Linked DNA regions of Homo sapiens: region 1 is linked to region 2. Evidence: promoter capture Hi-C in 16 types of primary human blood cells and fetal thymus (Javierre and others, 2016). All regions are on one chromosome and are shown on one strand. The core of a region is centred on a gene start or on the middle of the fragment in contact, and the rest is flanking DNA. Distances in the headings are between cores, read along the strand shown. Region 1 overlaps MYO18B (myosin XVIIIB). Region 2 holds the start of CRYBB2 (crystallin beta B2).

Region 1 (2,988 bases), core at 398-2,897, 550 kb after region 2:
AGAGGCAGAGTTAAGCCATGGATGGGGACAAACTGTCACTGCTGTGCCTGGATGGAGACTCAGAGCCAAGATGCAGGATGGCTCTGAGCCTCAGCCCACAGCAGGTGGCTGGACCATGGGCCAAGATATTCCTGGGGCTGGAGCAAGGGAGCCTCAGGACATGTTTCCACAAGGCAGCAAGCTCTGGCTGGTTCCTGCCAATTTAATTTTCTTGTCCCAATCAATAAATAACTCCGTACTCTCTTGCCTTGTCCCAGCACAACTGTTTCATTTGATCCTCATCTAATCCTTGCAAGAAGCCATTAGAATCCATCCCATTTTGCAGGAATGGAAAACAAGGCTTGGGGAAGTGACCTGGTTCTCCTAGGGCTACCCAGTCAGTGAGGAACAGGGAGAGGCTGGAATAACACTGGAGTGGAAAGTAACCCGTATTGAATGTCAAGGAGACCTAGATTCTAGCTCTGGCCCTGCCGCTTTTTGTGGTCCTGGCTAAACCCCTTCCCCTTTCTTGGCCTCAGTTTACTCATCTGTAAAAATGTGCTATTAGTTTCTATTGGCCCCAGTTATTCTAGAGGTGCTGTTTCCCTCTATATGCTAAAAAGGGTGGCAGGGTGGGGGGACCAAAGGCTTTGATGACTTTGAAGGTCCAAAGGAAGAGAATCCATGGGCATATGAGGGTGGGGTGGGAGGAGGCTGGCACTGGTTATCTTGTTTGGCCCACCCCATGTTACTGTCTCCTCTGTGGTGGTTGGTTAAAAATAAGGCACTGACTTACTTTTCAATATGGTGTAGACAGTGGTGAGATTTGCCAAGTGCAGTCAATCCCCCTTCCAAGGCTATGTCCTGCCTTCCCCCAGAAGGTCAGGAGAAGCTACTCGGCCTTGGGCCCCAGAGCCATGATGCTGAGCACCAGCTGAACCTCGTAATCACCCGGGCAGTCACAACCCAGGCAGACTCAATCAGAGTCTCTGGGAATAAGGCCAAGGAGTTAAGGTTTTTAAAAGTGCCCCAGGAGATTCCAGAGAGCCCTAGAGAGAAAAGGAAGGGCATCTAATATGCCGCAGTTCAAGGCACTGGCTTTGGAGTCAGAGAGAACTGGCTTTACATTTCACCTTTGTAGCTGGGTCACCTTACATCTTTACATCTAGTTCTTTGCTTGTAGAATGGGGAGAAGTTCAGAATCTACTCCAGTTGTTCCTTCGGAGGATTAAATAGGAGATTGCATGATGGTGATATAGGGCTCATTGCAAGGAAGATATAAATGATAGATACTATTATTATTGTGATTATTACAAAGATGAAAACAGAGACTTTGCTGTGGCATTGGTCACCTAAAACAGGAGAGAGACACAAAAGCCAGAATGGAACGCAGAAGGTGGCCACGCTGTGACTGGTGTACTAGCATAGTGCTCTGGAACTTTGTGCAAGCTTGGAACAATTTCTGATTGAGGTCTTCAGGCAAAGATTTGTAGAGAGGAGATAGAAGAGATATTTGAGCTGGGTATAGAAGATGAGTAGACCATGGACAAGTGAAGAGGGGAAAGGGCACGCCAGGCAGCAAGCTCAGCATGGGCAACAGCCTGGAAGCAGGGACTGGTCAGGTAGGAGAAGGTGACCAGTACAGTTCATGCATGGGAACAAGTAGGGACAATATGGTCAGATTGGAGGCTGGGGTTCCTTGTTGAGGAATTTGAAAGACCAATGGTGGTGCCAAATGATTTTCCTTTAGGCTGTGGGCAGCTACCCAAATCTTTTGATCTGGTATAAAATGGCTGGCAGCAAATTGAAGGGACAGCAGTTCACGGGCTGTGGCAATGGCCCAAGTGAGGGATAGCGGACATGAGTTTGGAAAAAGAGACATAGATGTGAAGCTTGGCAGGGTGGAATCAACATGCCCCTGGGACTGGTTTGAATGCAAGAGGAGGGGGAGAATCCCAGATTCCCAGGCATGGGTGTCTGTGAGGCTGTGCTGGCATTGTCCAAGATGGAAGAACCCAGGCTAGGGCTGGTGGTGAAGCGAGACATCAGGGTAGAACTTGCTTATGAGGTTGAGGTCTTTTTCTGCAGAGATGGAGGCACAGCTGGACCTGTGAGCTCTTCAGGCCATAGCCAGGCTGGTTTGAGGATGAAGCTCTGCACAAGGCTAAAATCACAAGGCAGTAACAAGGCCTGGGAAGGGAGCAGGCAGTGGAAACCCCTTGGGTGTTATGCAGTCACAAATGTCTGGGTCAGGCAAGAGTGGGGGACCCCAGGGGCAGAAACCAGGGCCCTCAGCTGGTATGGGAAGTGTGATATGGGGATCAGGGCAGTGGAAGTAGCAGCAGCTCGGTTTATTCTTCTCTCTCTGATCTCCAAAGTGCATTTCTACATCTCATCCTATAAAAGATCTGGATGGTCAGGTGGTATCTGCCTGTACTGGGGAAACCCGAAGCCCAGAGAGAAGAGATGGTAGCCCAGATAGACATAGAAGGAAGCCTAGCTGGAGAGTGTTAGAGCCAAGGTGAGAACAGGTCCTCTAGTGACAGGCCCTGAGTCCTTTCCTGGATCCCCTACTCGCCTAGGAAAAATCCAGGCAGAAATAACAACAGTAGTAGCAGCAGCTACTGTTGTTGAGGACACACTATGCGCTGGGCTCAGTTTCTACATATTGTCACACATTCTCACACCTACCCTGCAAGGTAGGCTTTTATCATTCTCATTTTATTGATTAAAAAACAGACTCAGAGAGGAGAAGTCATTTAGCTAAGGTCACACAGCTATAGAGTGTCAGAGTCAGGAGTTGAACTTGGTTCTGTTGGGCTCCAAAGTCCACTCCTTCCACTCCATCACTCAACTTTGAGGGGCTAGGCCAAGGTCAAGGGTGCTAGGCTTGGCCATGCCTGTTGGATTTGGAGGTGCTCGAGCATCTGTGGAAGGATGAATGGAGAAGTGAACAATGAAATGAATGAACGAACACGAGTGAATGACAAAGCTGTCAGGTCAGCAAGC
Region 2 (2,950 bases), core at 46-2,545:
CAACTCACTCTAGGACAGTGGTTAAGAAACAGGCCGGGTGCAGTGGCTCATGCCTGGAATCCCAGCACTTTAGGAGGCCAAGGTGGATGGATTGCCTGAGCTCAGGAGTTTGAGACCACCCTGGGCAACATGTCAAAACCCTGTCTCTAACAAGATACAGCAAAAAAAAGAATTTAGCTGGACCTGGTGGCGCACACCTGTAGTCCCAGCTACTGGTGAGGCTGAGGCAGGAGAATCGCTTGAACCTGGGAGGCAGAGGTTGCAGTGAGCCGAGATCACACCACTGCACTCCAGCCTGGGTGACAGAGTGAGATTCCATCTCAAAAGAAAGAAAGAGAAAGAAAGAAAGAGAGAGAGAGAGGGGGAGAGAGAGAGAGAGAGAGAGAGAGAGGGGAGAGAGAGAGAGAGAGAGAGAGAGAGAGAGAGAGAGAGAGAGAAGAAAGAAAGAAAGAAAGAAAGAAAGAAAGAAAGAAAGAAAGAAAGAAAGAAAGAAAGAGAAAGAAAGAAAGAAAGAAAAGAAAGAGAAACAGCCAGGGGCCTTGAGAATAAAATGCACTCTCCATAATTGGCCTCCCTGGCCCTGCAACATCAGGCCCTGCCCACCTTGGCCACCTGGCACAGGCCCTATTTGTCACATGTCATGCTTTAGCTTTGTTAACCTGTTTTCAGGTCTTCTTGAAATACACCATGCTGGTTCCTTGTATATGGACCCTTTCTGCTTGGAACTGTCCCCCCACCCTGTTCCCAGGCTTCCTCTTCTCCATCCCTGAGGGATGCGCTACCTCCCAGGAGCTTTTCTGAATGGCCTGGGCTGGCGTAGGTCCTCTTCCTGACACTCCCCTGGAACAGAGATTGTCACCAAGTGGATGCCCAACAAATATTTGTTGAATGAATAAATGGGTAGATGAATGAAGCCCAGACTCTGCCAAACCACCCTTCTTTACTTGTTCTTCCCCAGGCCCACTGAGATGTTCCTCTGTCTGCCATGCCTCACGGCCTGACTGACCGTACCAGTGAACCCAGCGTACCCCTGGCCCTGGCAGCCGGACGGCTGATGCATGCAAAGCGGGCATCTCCTTGCCCAGCCGCCTGACCGCCCTGGCGCGGCCGAATCTGAAAGCTAATGACATTATTGTGCAGAGACACAATGTCTGTGGGCATTTGCTGACCCGAGCTTTGGTGAGAGCTTAATCCAGCATTCTCACCCTGCTTTTCGCAGGAGCACAGCGGTCACTCATCTTGGCACCGGCACTTCTGGGGAAGGTATAAATGCCACCTCCCGCTGGCCGAGCTTCACGGCACTCGCAGGGGCTGGTGTCACTGGTAAGATTGCCTCTCTTGCTTGTCTTCCCTTCTTTCTCTCATCCTCACCCCTGTCCGCAAGCATGGGAGCACCCAGATTCTGACAAGTGACTTTGGGCAGAGACTTCAATGCTGTTAGCCTCAGTTTTCTTTTCTGGTAACTGGGAAGGGGGTTAAAAAGCCTTCTTTATTGTAAGGATTCAAGAGAAGTTAGGGGATCATCCAGCACAGTGCCTGGCACACAGTGGGCATTGGGGCAATGTTCTTTATTATTAATATTAAACAGACTATCAGCATCCTTGTTTCGCCAGTCGCTGAGGAGGAGAATGTAACTGAGGGTTTTGCAAGAATCAAACCAGTGACAGTTCAGCATTGTTTCTAGGTGGGTGAGTCAGTTTTCCTCCACATCTGCAATTAGGGGGCACCCACTCTGTGCCTAGCCTCTGGGAGTGCTAGGGGATAGGATGCAGCCACAGGTATGTGACAGGTCCCAGCAACAGGTGATTTCAATGCCACTAAAGCATGGTAGAAATGACTCTAATAATGCCACAATTGCTGCCATTTGCTGCATGCTGAGTGTGTTCTGGGACCACGGCCAAGTGCTTCCGGTTTTATACATTACATAATTGAATCCTCACAACCTGTTCACAGGTATTATTAGACATCATTACTGTCCCCATTTTATAGAACAGGAAGTTGAGGCATAGGGAGAGGATGAGACCTGCCCAGAGTCTCAATTCTGGCAGGCAGCAGAGACTGCTCCTGAACTGGACCAACTGAGCTTCTTCAGTCTGTGAACACTCAGGACTGGGAAGTGATATGGCAGGACCTCAGGCACTCTGACAAGCCCAGAGGGCTGGTTTCTTGCGGGAGAGCAGTAGATTTGGCTGCCAAGGTGCTTAACTGCATTTCTTCCTCCTGGGAAACATCCAGTATTGGCCTTTCATGTGGAAGGGGCTTCTGGAAGCTGGCGTTATCTCTGAAGAGGGAGGCCAGGCTTCCTCTCTTACCCCTGGGGAAACACAGCCTGGTTTGACCACCCCTTCTGCAGGAAGGGGGAAGAGGCTGACAATTTTCCAGGCTTTTCTGATGTTCTCACTAGCTAAGGCAGGTCTACCCTGCTGCCTGCCACAGTGCCTGGATTTCTACCGTCGCACCCATTTCTTCTCTTTCTTGTAATGTGGGTTCTGTATCAGATGATTTCACTAATGGGGGAGTAAAACCAGTGGCAGAGAAGAGAAATCTAGGTACCAGGATGGGGAGAGGAGTCCCAGGGAGAGGGTGGGAGAAGGAGCAGGGGAACAGGGAACTTTGTGAGTTCCTAAACTGGGCACCACCACACCACCAAATACAGCCAATGCATAGGTTTTGTTTGTTCCACACAATTTTATTTAAGAAATTACTGCATAAAGGCAGAAGTTCTGGGATTGACCATTCTATATTCTGTGTGGTATCCATTGTCTGGGGTTGAGTGTTGGGAACCCACTTTGGACCTCATTTAAGCTCTAGTTTATTACTGCTCTCTTTCTTTGAGTAGACCTCGTTTTTCCCTCCTCCTGCAGCTGGCCTGGATAGAAATAAATGAAGCTAAGGACAGAAGTTGAAGTAGCTGCTTACGGACCCCACAGCTCTGGGACAGTCTGAAACC

What was found. The method cuts DNA at HindIII sites, captures the fragments that hold promoters and counts their contacts. A CHiCAGO score of 5 or more calls a contact.
Region 1: a fragment that was not itself captured here is called in contact with the fragment with the promoter of CRYBB2 in region 2 in 1 of 17 cell types (M0 macrophages); the score reaches 7.5 in M0 macrophages.

The regions. Positions count from the first base shown.
Region 1 is chr22:25,765,093-25,768,080 of GRCh38, forward strand. The region is part of intron 3 of MYO18B (myosin XVIIIB); the gene reads left to right. Among named protein-coding and RNA genes, the nearest start is that of MYO18B, 24 kb to the left of the region's middle. The HindIII fragment of the contact is 443 bases long and covers 1,427-1,869 here.
Region 2 is chr22:25,218,344-25,221,293 of GRCh38, forward strand. It overlaps CRYBB2 (crystallin beta B2), which reads left to right and starts at 1,296. Exons shown (of 6, transcript NM_000496.3): 1 at 1,296-1,323. The HindIII fragment of the contact is 9,715 bases long and covers 1-2,950 here.